5 separate regions of the Homo sapiens genome follow, and all the other regions are linked to region 1. The links are contacts of gene promoters, found by promoter capture Hi-C in blood cells and fetal thymus (Javierre and others, 2016). All regions are on one chromosome and are shown on one strand. The core of a region is centred on a gene start or on the middle of the fragment in contact, and the rest is flanking DNA. Distances in the headings are between cores, read along the strand shown.

Evidence for each region. Contacts are between HindIII fragments. The CHiCAGO score rates a contact against its expected background, and 5 or more counts as called.
Region 2: a fragment that was not itself captured here is called in contact with the fragment with the promoter of SFRP5 in region 1 in 2 of 17 cell types (M1 macrophages and M2 macrophages); the score reaches 5.6 in M1 macrophages.
Region 3: a fragment that was not itself captured here is called in contact with the fragment with the promoter of SFRP5 in region 1 in 1 of 17 cell types (M0 macrophages); the score reaches 5.1 in M0 macrophages.
Region 4: a fragment that was not itself captured here is called in contact with the fragment with the promoter of SFRP5 in region 1 in 4 of 17 cell types (M2 macrophages, M1 macrophages, M0 macrophages and 1 more); the score reaches 8.3 in M2 macrophages.
Region 5: the fragment with the promoter of CRTAC1 here is called in contact with the fragment with the promoter of SFRP5 in region 1 in 1 of 17 cell types (M2 macrophages); the score reaches 5.2 in M2 macrophages.

The regions. Positions count from the first base shown.
Region 1 is chr10:97,770,734-97,773,268 of GRCh38, forward strand. It overlaps SFRP5 (secreted frizzled related protein 5), which reads right to left and starts at 1,266. Exons shown (of 3, transcript NM_003015.3): 1 at 572-1,266. The coding sequence starts at 1,100. The HindIII fragment of the contact is 8,141 bases long and covers 1-1,926 here.
Region 2 is chr10:98,104,287-98,106,821 of GRCh38, forward strand. No RefSeq gene overlaps it. Among named protein-coding and RNA genes, the nearest start is that of R3HCC1L, 29 kb to the right of the region's middle. The HindIII fragment of the contact is 1,171 bases long and covers 676-1,846 here.
Region 3 is chr10:98,064,831-98,067,365 of GRCh38, forward strand. No RefSeq gene overlaps it. Among named protein-coding and RNA genes, the nearest start is that of CRTAC1, 35 kb to the left of the region's middle. The HindIII fragment of the contact is 1,526 bases long and covers 512-2,037 here.
Region 4 is chr10:98,048,095-98,050,629 of GRCh38, forward strand. No RefSeq gene overlaps it. Among named protein-coding and RNA genes, the nearest start is that of CRTAC1, 19 kb to the left of the region's middle. The HindIII fragment of the contact is 1,514 bases long and covers 511-2,024 here.
Region 5 is chr10:98,029,347-98,031,881 of GRCh38, forward strand. CRTAC1 (cartilage acidic protein 1) reads right to left here and starts at 1,275. Exons shown (of 15, transcript NM_018058.7): 1 at 1,103-1,275. The coding sequence starts at 1,126. The HindIII fragment of the contact is 20,576 bases long and covers 1-2,535 here.

The sequences.
Region 1 (2,535 bases), core at 16-2,515:
TGGGGAAGAGGGTGGAGATCTTAGGGTTCCAGGTACAGAAAACGGGGACGCAGATCATAGTCCAGAACATTCTTAGTCCCCAGTCTTTCTCCACATCCCTTCCCTCACCTCTCCTCTCTTCCCAAGGTCCCAACACGGAGTGGGGATGATGCTTGCTTTGGTGCCTCGGGATCCAGGTGAAAGGCATTGTTTAACGACCCCAGGCATTCTTGGGCTGAGAGGGGTCATAAGGCATTTATCAGGACGTCCCAGGATTGGGGGGACGGCATTGGGGGATTCTCAGCAGCTTGGTTGGATGGGTACTGAGAGGGGTGCCAGGGGTTTCCAGGGAACGAGAGCCAGAGGGAAGGTCTGGAGCCGCCGGGAGGCACTATGCTGCCACTCCCTGGGGAGGTGGGAAGGCGGGAAGGCTGCGGGGGATAATTCCGGGGACGCTGGGCTGAGCTAGGACAGCGTGTGTGTGTGTGTGTGGGCGGAGGGGGGGAGCTGCACCTCTTGGGGGGTTCGCAGAGCTGTGCTAGGGGAGCTGCAGGGCCGTCGGAGCGCGCGGGGACGGCGGCGGCGGCGCTACCTGGAGGCGCGGTGGCGGGCAGGTGCCCGAACTGCACGGCGATGCAGAGGTCGTTGTCCAGGGGGAACTTGTGGCAGTGCAGCATCTCAGGCCAGGGGAAGCCGTAGGCCTCCATGAGCGGCGCGCAGCCGGCGCGCACGGCCTCGCACAGCGAGCGGCACGGGTAGATGGGCCGGTCGAGACAGACGGGCGCAAAGAGCGAGCACAGGAAGACCTGCGTATCCGAGTGGCAGCGCTTGGCCAGCAGCGGCAGCCAGCTGCTCGCCTGCTGCTTCACTTCGGCCAGGCTCTCGTGCTCCAGCAGGTTGGGCAGCCGCATGCGCTTGTAGCCCACCGTGTGGCAGAGCGGCAGGTCGGCAGGGATGTCAAGGCACTGCGGCGGCTTGGAGTAGGAGCGGCCGTGCAGCGGCTCGGCCTGCCAGCCATAGTAGTCGTACTCCTCGCAGCGCGCCGGCGCCCAGTGCAGCGCCCCCAGCAGCAGCGCCAGCGCGGCCGTCCGCACGCCCCCCCCCGCCGCCGCCGCCCGCATGGCTGCGCCCTCTCCAGGTGCGCGCCGCGCAGCCCCCCGACGCTCGGTGCCCGGCGGCCCAGGTGTTCCGGCGTGCGCCCCCGGCCCTGACTCTACCCAGCCGCCGCCGCCGCCGCCGCGGAGGTCGCCCAGGTGGGTGGCAGCCTGCGCTGCGGGCGCCCCGACTGATCCTGGCGCCTCCCACCTCGGGGCTCCAGCCCGGGCCTCGCCGTGCGCCCCAGCCAATCTCCGGCCGCCTGGCCCCAGCTCCAAGGCGGGGAGGCAGTGGGGGCGGCCCTCAGCCCCTCCCGCACCCTGCCCGAGCGTCCCGCCCAGCGCCAGGTCTTGCGCCCCTCTCCCGGCTCGGCTCCCCTGCCGCAGCCCTGGCCTCGCCCAGCGTTTCTCCCCAGGGCTCCCTGCCTCCCTGGGCATTTTCCTCGACCCTCGCCTTCTCCATCCTTCCTCCTTATCTCTCTCCGCCACAGCCTCTCCTGTTCCTTTTCTCACTCACTTCACTTGCTTATCTCTCTGCCTTGGCTTTTCTCCCTCTGCTCTGTTTTCTCTTCCCCGACACCTCGGTTCCTCTTCTCCCTGGTGGGAGGCTCGTGCCACCCCACACCCTGGATCTTCTGGTCCTCCTGGCAGGTCTTCATTGAGCTTGGTGCCAGGCCCCATGCTGGCTGCTGGGGAATCAAAGATGGATATGACCCAGAACCCACCTCCAGGGCCAGGATAGTCTAGTGGGGGTGAAGGTAATCATAGCTTCTATTTAGTGAGCTCTTACTACCTGCCAGGGACGGTGCAAGGTGCAAGGTGCGGTGCAAGGTGCGGTGCAAGGTACGTTCCAAGCTTATCAGCTATTGCTAATGATAGCCAATACTTAGTGGGTGCTAATTGTGTGCCAAGTCTGATCTGAGCACATTGCATAAACTCCCTCAGCTAATTCTCACAATAAGGCTAGATGGTGGGTAGGTACTATTATTGTCCCCACCTTACAGATAAAGATCCTGCGGCAGAGAGGTTAAGCACAGATTAGAGCTGGGATTTGAACCCAGATAGTCTTTTTCGAGAGTCAGAGCCCAGAAACAACCAGGAGGCCTGGATTCTGAGTCTGTAGGCCTAATGACCAAGGGGATAGGGAGTTCAGAGAAGTGGAGTAACTGGCCCTTGGCCACACAGCTCATATGTGAAGGAGCTAGGATTTGAATCCAGATGTTGGGCTACAAAGGCCAGGGCTTAACCACTCTGTGGTAAGATAACTTCCAACCCATGGTAGGGAACACAGTGGGAAGAGGGGGAATTGATGGTGTGTCTGAGCAGGGCACCCAGGCAAGCATCAGAGGGGAGGGGACCTTCAGGAGCCCCATGCTTGGTGTCTTTCTCTCCTGTCTGAGTCCTGCCTTTCATTGGCTCTCCCTTGAGAGGAATTTGGACTGGAGGCTTGAAGGGAGGGGAA
Region 2 (2,535 bases), core at 11-2,510, 330 kb after region 1:
CCTTTTCTTTCTTTCTTTTTCTCTTTCTTTTTCTCTCTTTTCCTTCCTTCCTTCCTTCCCTCCTTCCTTTCCTCCTCTCTCCCTCTACCTCACTGTCTCTCTCTCTCTCTCTTCTTCTCTCCCTCCCTACTTTCCCTCCCTTCTTTTCTTTTTCATTTTTCTTTTTCACTCCTTCCAAATTCCTACAGGCACCTTAGTAAGCACACCATTATCAATACATTTATTCGCACTTACCTAATAGATTTTTTCCATGAAGTCTTTCCGGCTCCCTCAATCAGATGTAAACATTTCCTGCTCAGAACTCTCCCAGCACTTTGAACTTCTCCTATGCCATTAATCATACTTTGCCATGTAATATTTCTAGGTCTACTCTATTGTATGCCCCTGGGGAAAAAGGCTATTTTATTCATCTTTATGTCCCTTCTTCTGCAGTGCCTAGCATGATGCCTTGCACATGTTGACAATGTTTTACATTTATGTGATGTATAACTAGTTTAAGAAGTATTTTCACAAACATTAATGAATAATGTTTGTGAAAATAAGTGAAATAAGGGCCTGAATAAGTGAAATGTTACTCACTAACGTTTGTGAAAAACTTATTCAGACACTAAGTATTTTCTGAACAGATTCGTGTATGAATTCCTTTCTTTTTTTTTTTTCCTTATCATATTCTTAAGCTTGTCTTATCTCCTGTCCAGGAGGCAGGATTGTGCAGTAGTAAGGACACTGACCTTGAAGTTAGACATCTGAATCTGAAGTCTTGTTTTAGCTCTTAATAGCTGGGCTGTCTTAGGCATGTTATTTAACCCTTCTGAACCATAGTTTTATCTATAAAGTGGCCATAACAATATCTTCTTTACAAGATTGGTGATGATTAATTGCAATTACTTGTGAAAACATCTGGCGCATAGCAGATCATTTTAAAATACTCATTAAATGGAATTCTTCCCTTCCCCCAACTCTTCACCTCCATTAGAATGTCCCTTAAGGACAAACTGGCTTTTTAAATTCTTTCTCTCCAGATTTTTATGCTGTGTCTTGGTGCATTGCATACAAAGATGTGCAGAATACATTTTTTGTGTACTCTCAAAAATAGTCGATGTCATAAGATGAAACACGTATGGAAAACATTCAAACTGAAATGAACAGGATTCCTTGTTGCAAGGGCCATACACCCAATTCAAACAAACTTGAGGGGGAGAAAATAATTTATTGACTTTCCTAATTGGGAAGTTCTAGGGTAGATCTGCCTTTCAGCAAAGTGGTGTCCAGGGGTTAAAATACTGAAGACAGGCCAGCTCCGGGTGGGCCCTGCCTCTATGGCTTTATTCTCAGGCAAAATATCTCCAGCTGGCGGGAAGGATGGCTGGGGGCTTGTGAGTCAAAGGAGAGAAGCCCTTTCTCTCTTTGTGTCCATGTGCAAATCTCATGGAAGAATTCTCACCGACCCTGCTTGGGTTCTCTGCCCACATCTGAACTAGACATAGGTACAAAAGATGTAGTACTATGGCTGGCTCAGCCTGGGTCACATGCCCACTCCTGTGGCCAGTGGGGAAAGACACAGTAGTTTAAAGCCTCTCAGACTACAAGGAATGAGGGAGACGTAGTTCTTCCAAATGAAGGGGTGCCAAAAGACAAAACCAACTTGTTTGGTGCACACATAGAATATAACATGCTATTTCCCACAAGATGCCCAAAGCCGTCTGCTTTGTGTTATTTAAAGGGCCCAGTTTTATTTACCCATTAATTTCCTCATTCACTGTTACTGGAAAAATAAAACCATGCTGAGTATCTCCTAAGGCCCAGACCCAGTGCCAAGGTTTGGGGTAAAGCAGTGACAAAGTCAAGCTTGGCCTTCCTCTCACAGATCTTCCAGTCCAGTGAGGGCTCAGGGACCTCTCACTGCATGGACCACATTTCCTGAAGTTCCCTCCACTAACCATGGTCTTTGGCTTCAAGAAATGAGTTCCACAGGGTTCCATTTATAGTGTATGCACTGGAAGGAGCATCACTTTATCTCATTCTCACCTGTTTGGTGAAACTGCCTTTGCAAAAGTTATGACAGTGAGAAAAATCAGACCTAACTGACTCTGTCTTGTTTCTAACCTCCAAGCCGCACTTGTTCATTCCTGGGCTTAGGCCAGGCTAACTATGGAAGGATTAAGTTCATAATTTAACTTTGAAACAAAGATAATAACAGCCCTTTCCTGAAACAAACCCCCTCCTTCCTTGGGGATCAGACCTCTTTTGTAAAACTAACAAATTAGCCACAAGATTAGAAATTATGGCTCAGAAGTCATACAGCTAGAGGCCACAAGATCCTTAACTCCCCAGTTGCTCCTATAGAGGACATCACTATTGTAAAATCTAAGATTGGTGTTCAAGATATTTTTCACATCTTGCACTCGATGAACCAGCTGACACCACCCAAATGGATAAACTGGCTGAGCTGGTCTTGTGGCTCCTACCCAGGAACTGTGACTCAGTGCAAGAAGACAAGCTATGAATCCCTGTGCTTTCATCTGTGACCCAACC
Region 3 (2,535 bases), core at 25-2,524, 290 kb after region 1:
CTTCCCTGTGTATATTTGCCCCGGCTCTTATCACTATCTAACCTACCATATGTTTTTATTTATTGTGTTTATTGTCTCTCTTTCCTACTAAGGTAGCATTCCATGAGAGCATTAGCAGGATTTTCGTCTATCCTGGTCAGTGCTGTATTCCCAAAGCCAAACAGTGCCTGGCACCTGATAGCTATTTGTTGAATGAATAAAGAGTGGCTCTTGTTCAGGGTAATCTTTGGGCTCAGTGTCTCCAGCAGCTATGTGGACCTCAGGAAAAGGGCTCCCTTTTTTAGAGCTTGAGAAATTCACATCCCTTTCCAGGAGCTATAGAAGTAGGTGCTATGGTGCAAGGATTAATAGCATAGGATTTGGCATTAGACAGACTCAAGTACTGATTCCAGCTCCATCACTTACAAGTTGTGTGACCTTAAGCAAAGCACTTAACCTCTCTGTGCCGGGGCTCCCTCATCAGTGAAATGAGGACAAAAATCTACCACTCAGAATGGTTTTAAGGTTGAGAAGCTTCCGATGACCCCAAGTAAGGCTTGATGAAGACTTTTCCTTACTTAAGGGTCAGCACTCACTAATTGTTTATCAACAAACAATTTTTTCACCTGAGGGAGAACTTCAGCTCTGCCTACTTCCCCAGGTCCTCTGGGCCTTCTCCTATGATTCCTCACCTCCAGTCATTCCCCCTGCCCGAAGAGCTGTAAGGCTTTGGAATTCCTTAACTCTAGGTCTCCATCATAACTGATAACTATCATTTTCATGGGGGATGATTGCTTTGCATACACGGTTATACAACTTAAATAATTAGAGCTGTATGATGATGGGGACTGTGTATCTGGTCCCCTGCTATGCCCCCAGGGTCTGATGCTACGTGAGTACACAGTCAACATTATGAAGTCATCACAGCCAACTGGAAGGTTGATATCATTCCTATTTTACAGATGTGGAGACTAAGGCTTGCCCACAGTCACAGATTAAATAAGTGGTAGAGCCAAGACTTCAACCCAGATCTGTCTGATCCCCAAACCTGAGAGTTTTCTATTCTATGAAGCTGCCTGAGGAAGGTGGCTCTTTCACATTATCCTCACACAAAAGGAGAGCCCAGGTGTAGGCACAGACTCATGGTGGTCTCAGGACTCATCTGGTACCCTGGTTGTAGAAAGTATCAAGGTATTCAGATTCAGTGGTGGTGGGGAGAGTATGGCTTCACAAACACTGTGCCTTTAGCCCATTGACTTTTATTGCCAGTATGTTCTTTTCCAGATTGGGTGAATCATCCTTGGTTGGCGGGTAGACCTCTCTTAATTTTTTTAGCTGCCCCTGAATTCTTGACAACGTTGAGTCATTCCTTGGCAGGACATTGCCAATGTTGTGGCAATTGGGACAATTGGTGTGAGCCGAATGGCTTAGTTATCTAACCTATAGGTTTTCTTTAAACACAGCACAGAGTTTAACTCTGTTCTAGGGAGTGTTTGAAAGAGCGGTGGCAGTTCTTTAATCCTTGCAGAATGCTTTCAAAATCTCAAGGGTGGGTGGAGGTAGGTGGAAGACAGAGGGGGTATATTTGTAAACTGTAAAGGATGTCTTTTAACAATCCAAGCTGGGCTGTTTGTGCTTGAAATAAGACTCAGGCAGGCACACAAATACACAAACACCCTGTGATGAAAAACCTCAGTCTTTATTGTACAAACAGCTGTGTTTGCCTTTAAATGATGCAATTAAAATAATGTTAAGGATAAGTAGAGTGTGGCCTTAGCTAGGGTCCTATTTGAGAATCAGAGGAAGAGCTGCTGATGGGGCATGGTTTTTGAGAGACATCTCAAAGGCTGTTCTTTCTCAAAAACCTCCCACCCTCATTCTGCTTTGGGGGCTGTGACTTTTCACCATTGGCCACTAGTAGAAGGTATAACATTGGGCCTTTTATCAAAGATCTGGGGTATATATAGGTGATGAGTAAGTGGTAGCATATTAATGCACTCGTGCACAGTGACACTCAGTCATTTTAGGTGTCAAGTTAGCAAGCTGATGCCCTGGGAAAGCTTGGAGAATACAGGTGATAAGCTATGGTTTGGCTGTGAAGTCTTGTTGCTTTTGTTCACCCAGCATATTTTTTCCTTTTTTTTGAGACAGAGTTTCACTCTTGTTGCCCAGGCTGGAGTGCAAAGCACAATCTCACCTCATTGCAACCTCTGCCTCCCGGTTTCAAGCAATTCTCCTGCCTCAGCCTCCTGAGTAGCTGGGATTACGGCACCCACCACCACGCCAGGCTAATTTTTTGTATTTTTAGTAGAGAAGGGGTTTCATCATATTGGCCAGGGTGGTGTCGAACTCATGACCTTAGGTGATCCACCCGCCTCAGCTTCCCAAAGTGCTGGGATTACAGGCGTGAACCACTGCGCCCAGCAGCATATTTTTTTCTAGACATAGGATCCTGATTTTAATTTGGGGAACCATCCCTCCTCTAAGCTTAGTCCATGGAATTTCAGTGGGCATGTGACCTAGGCTTAGCCAGTCAGAGCTCTGCATTCTCTTGGG
Region 4 (2,535 bases), core at 18-2,517, 280 kb after region 1:
ACCTTTGCTGGAGTGCAGTGGCGTGATCACAGCTCACTGCAGCCTTGACCTGCCTGGGCTCAGGTGATCCTCCCATCTCAGCCTCCTGAGTAGCTGGGACTACAGGCATGCACCACCATGCCCAGCTATTTTTTTTTTTTTGGACTTTTTGTAGAGAGGGAGCTTCACCATGTTGGCCAGTCTGGTCTCAAACTCCCAGGCTCAAGTGATCTGCCCACCTCAGCCTCCCAAAATGGTAGGATTACAGGCCTAAGGCCCTCACCCTAATTATTATTTTATTCATCAAATATTTATAGAGTTCCTACTATGCACTAGGTCCTGTGTTAGGCCCTGGGTCATTGTAGAGGCTCTTGGCACATGTGGGACTATGGTCAAAAGTTATCATTCGAATGAAATATGCTTATTACAATGGATATATGCTGAATAAATGAATAAGTCAGGAGACACCACGTGCTAGCTCTGACTCTAACACTGATGCCTTGGGTCTCCTTTGCCATTCTCTGTAAATGAAGCTTCCAGGCTGATATGCAATGCAAAGACTTAGATTAAGACATAAAGTCTTCAAATTTTAGAACTAGAAAAGACTTTGGCAGGCAAGTGATGTGAAATTTTAGAGGGAAAGTGATCCCTTTGAAAATCAAATGAGATATGGACTCCTTTATCTAAATACACAAAACACTATGCATACAAATGCTGGGGATTCCTAGAACATTTGAAGCCTATTTGTGGACTTCCTAGCAATCCACAGGCCAAGAACCTCACATCTGGGCTAACCTCCCATTATTTGGGGTGAGAAATCTGAGACTCAGAGAAGGGAAGAGAAGCCCTACATCTCACAGCAAATCAGTAGCAAAGTCCATGCCTGAGATCTGGTTCCGTGCTCTCCCGCCACAGACCCCTGACTTACAGGAAGCACATGGAATATGAGGAAACCAGTACTGGCTCCCGGGAACACAGAACTTCAGGATGTCACATGCTGATATTTATTTTCTGTTAATATCTCTCAGGGACAGACAGAGTGGTTCAGACAACCAACTCTGTTTCCAGTGCGAGGCTATATGGCACCTCTGGATGCCTCCTAAAATTGGGCAGTTGGAAAGCTCCAGAGATGGACTGGCAGAGCTGGTGAGTCAAGGATGGAGGGAAGCAGGAAGCAGAGGAGAGTCTGGTGGTCTGGGTACTCAACAGCGAGGCCTCAAGGACAGTCAGCTTCCCTCTGTCCACTGGCTGGTCCCTGGAGTTCAGGGGGCTCTTCTGCCATGGGGCAGTGGTGCACGGTAAGGCAGAGCCTGGTCTCTGGCTATCATGGAAAGAACTAACTTAGCATAGTGCCTGAGAGCAGGGGCACTGGTGCCTCCCTGCTAGGGTTTAGAGTCATGTTGTTCTACTTCCTGGCTGTGCCACCTTGGGCCAATAGCTAACCTCTCTTCCTGATCTCTAAAGTGGGGCCTGTGATGCCTTTACACCATAGGCTTGTGAGAATTACATGAGTTCGTTCTTGCAAAATGCTTAGAACAGAGCCTGACATATAATAAATGCCATACAAATGTATGATAATTCAGGGCATAAAATCCATACTTCCTCAGGCATCAGTTTTCCTCTGCTGGATTCTTTAGAACAAGCCACTACACTTCAAAAAAAGTTACATTTTTAAAAAATCAACTTTATCAAATTATAAATTATATGCAATCATATGTAATAATATGTACCTATTGTAATTGTACATTCAGACAAATTAGTTTTGGTAAATGTATGCATTTGTGTAACCACAACCGCAATCGGGATATAGAATGTTTTCATCACCCCCAAAACTTCTTTTCTGTCCCTCGTCCCAGTCAATCCTCCTTTATCTCCATCTCCAAATGATCATGAAATTTGCCACCAAAGGTTATGGTGGCACATCTCTGTCAATGTGCATTCGCTGGGCACCAAATATATGGATGTCTCCCAATATATGTATGCATTTGTTATATAATATATATTATATATGTCCTGCTATCAGTCTGTATCATACCCACTAGGAAAGCTTACTTCATGTTTTTTTTTAGATAAAAATAAACACAAGAAAATTATTAAGCAAATGGTTAAGATGAGAACCATTGGTGGATTGGTGTAAAGGGAATACAAGAGTTCTTTTGTACAGTTCTTGAAAGTTTTCTGTAAGATTAACATTGTACCAAAATGAAAACTTACAGCAAATTGACCTAAGCAGCAGCCGGTAGAGCTATTGTTGGGCACTTTGCACACTGTCCGTTCTCAGAATCCCCTGGAAAGTTTCTGAACCCTGCCAAAGCCCAGGCCTCGCCCCAGCTCACAGGAATCAGAAGCTCCAGGGGTGGAGCTTTGGGCATCCACTTGGCTCACAGTGAGGGAGCCAGGGTTCCTGAGGGCCATGGGCCTTGGCAGGAGAGGACTCCCTTCAGCTGGCTGAGTCCACACTGGCCTTCAGAGTAAAATCGGCCAGGCTTGAGTTTGGCTAGAGAAGAACTTGCTCAAGTCGTGGGGCAGATGTGTTTGTGAAAATGCTTTGTATCT
Region 5 (2,535 bases), core at 25-2,524, 260 kb after region 1:
TTTTCCACTTGGCTTCACGTGGAAAGTCCTGCACCCATCCCAGAAGACACCTCAAGTGCAACTCAAGAATGTGTCCTGTCAGGAGAACGGAAGCATCTCCTGGGATGTGCAGAAGCCACACTGGGTGCACCCACCAGCAGCAGCAGCGGCGGCGGCGGCGGCGGCGGCGGCGGCGGCGGCGGCAGCAGCAGCAATATTCATTAGTCATTCCTGGAGGAAGCCCCCCCAGCTCTCAACCCTAGGAGAATTTCCCCGCCACTCTGGGAGGCTTCCATCCAGGCTGGGATGACTTTGGATTCTTGAGTTGCTTTCTGCAGAAGCGGGACTAACCAGGGCTCCCAACTACTGTACTGCAAAGAAGCGCGCTGCATTGCTGGGCATGCCCCCAAGCCCGGCCTGGCTGCCCCATCAAAGCCTCCAAGTGCCCCCACGGGGTCGAGGAGGACTCAGGGTTCCCCTGGAATGCCTGAAGCCGGCTTGCCTCAGGCAGCCTGAAGGGAAGACCACACCTCGTCCAGCATAAGGCGGCTAGCAGCTACGCCGCGCGCGGGGCTGGCTCCCGGAGCTCTCTGCCACCCAGCGCTGTGCCCGGGAACTCGGCTTCCCAGGGGAGGAAGAGCCAGCCCGCGGGGCTCTTCCCCAGCCTGGAAGCGTAGGCACTCGGCCGAGGCCAGTGGCTTCCCAGGCCCGGGTCTCAGCCTGGCTGACTGGGAGACTCTCCCGATAGCCCGGCACATCCCTCCTCACCCGCTCCGCCCCCTCCAGGCCCCAGAGGCCCCCTCCCCTGACAGCTGACCTCCAGTGCGCCCCCAACACTTTCTCTGCCAGCTGCTGGCTGTCGCCCCCACACATCAGCTCCCACCTCTCCGCCACCTCCAACCCGGCCGCCGCCTCACCCCCAGCCCGCGGGGGAGGCTCCGCGCGCCAATCGAGTCCAGCGCCTCCCAGCAAGTTAGGAGCGAAGCCGCCGCCTTCGCGATCCCAGTCTTCCCGGGTTCCCGGGCGGCGTCCCCGCCACCCTTGCGGGCGGATCCGGGGGGGCGCGCAGAGCTGGAGAAACTTTCTCCGCCTTAGGGTGGGGGGCACCGGTGCAGATACTCACGCCGGGGTCAGCGCTCGGAGCCATCCTCCCGCTCTCGGCCCCGCCGCCTAGGGGCGTGGGAAGCGGGCGCTCGCTGCCGCCTCTGCCGCCGGCGCCGCCGCCTGCTTGCTCCCAGCCCCGGTCCCGGGCTGGCCTCGAGCCTCCCGCCCCGACGCCGCGCGCTCGCTTTATACAACTCCACTCGAGCGCGCCCGGTCTTATGTAAAGGCTGGCGGAGGCCCGCAGCCAATGGCGCGGCAGCTGGAGCCGGGGGCCCGGGGTGGGGGGCGCCGGCGCGGCCAATCGCGGCCCCGAGAGCCCGGAGAGCCGGGCGTGGGGAGGGAGCGCCTCCCCGCGCTGATTTAGGAGCCGGGATTGCGGTGGCAGCAGCCGGCAGCCAGGCTGGCCCGGCGCGGCGCGGCGGCCACTGGGGTGGGCGGCGGCGAAGGCGGCGGCGAGGGCGGGCGCCCCCCGCGCCCCGCCACTGCGTCGCGTAACCTTCAGGCGGCAGCGAGGCCTGGCGAGGAGGGGAGAGGGCGCCTGGCTGGGCGCTGGGGGCCCCAGGCCGGAGGGAAGCGAGGGTCCCTCGGGAGGCAGCGCAGGGAAGGAACGCGAAGGGGGAGGGGAGGGCGGCGAGCCCCAGGACCCCGCGGCCACCCCTGCGCGCAGGACCGAGGGTGGAGGCGGGAGCGGCTGCACTGCCTTCCCATTTCCCCCCAGGATAGCGATCTGGCGTCGCCGGGCCGGGCCAAAGCGGCCGAGCGAGCCGCGCTGATGGCGAGATTTCGACTACGGAGCTAGAGCCGAGCCGATCTTTATCCAGCCTGGGGACGTGTCCGAGCACCTCCCGGGGACTGCTCAGTATGGAGAGCAGGGCTCCGCGACGGCCCCCGCAGGCGGGGAGCGGGCGAGCGCAGCTCGGAGATCAGGCGCGCAGAGGCCCAGGCGGCTGCGGGCAGCGCCGCTTCTACCCCACCCCGTCCCCACCAGCAGTGCCCCCACCCCATCCCACCTAGTCCCTACCCCAGCAGTGGCCGAGTCGGGCCTGGCCCACCCGCTCCTGCCGCCTGCGTCCTACTAGCCTCCCTCACCGCTTTGATCACAGGTACTGCCCGCCTCTCCTCGCCCCCAACCCGCTGCCTTGGTGGTGGTGGGGGGATGGTTTCTGCCTCTCTGGACCAGGGGAATGGGGGTGCTAAGCGCCAGAAAAACACACTTGATCAGCAATGCTCAAAATACCCCTGTTCAGGCAGGAAACTGGCCTTGGTGGGTCACACTCTGAAGGCAAATCCTTTATTTTACGCCTAGAATAGAGCCTGGCACATAGTAGGCGCTCAGTGTTTATTGAATGAATTCTGAGCTTCCATGAGTGAGGTCTTTGGGTTTCTGAAAGCCAGGTAAAGGGGCCACAGAAGAGAAAGACTTGGGAATCCACCATCGGAGAGGGAAGGAGC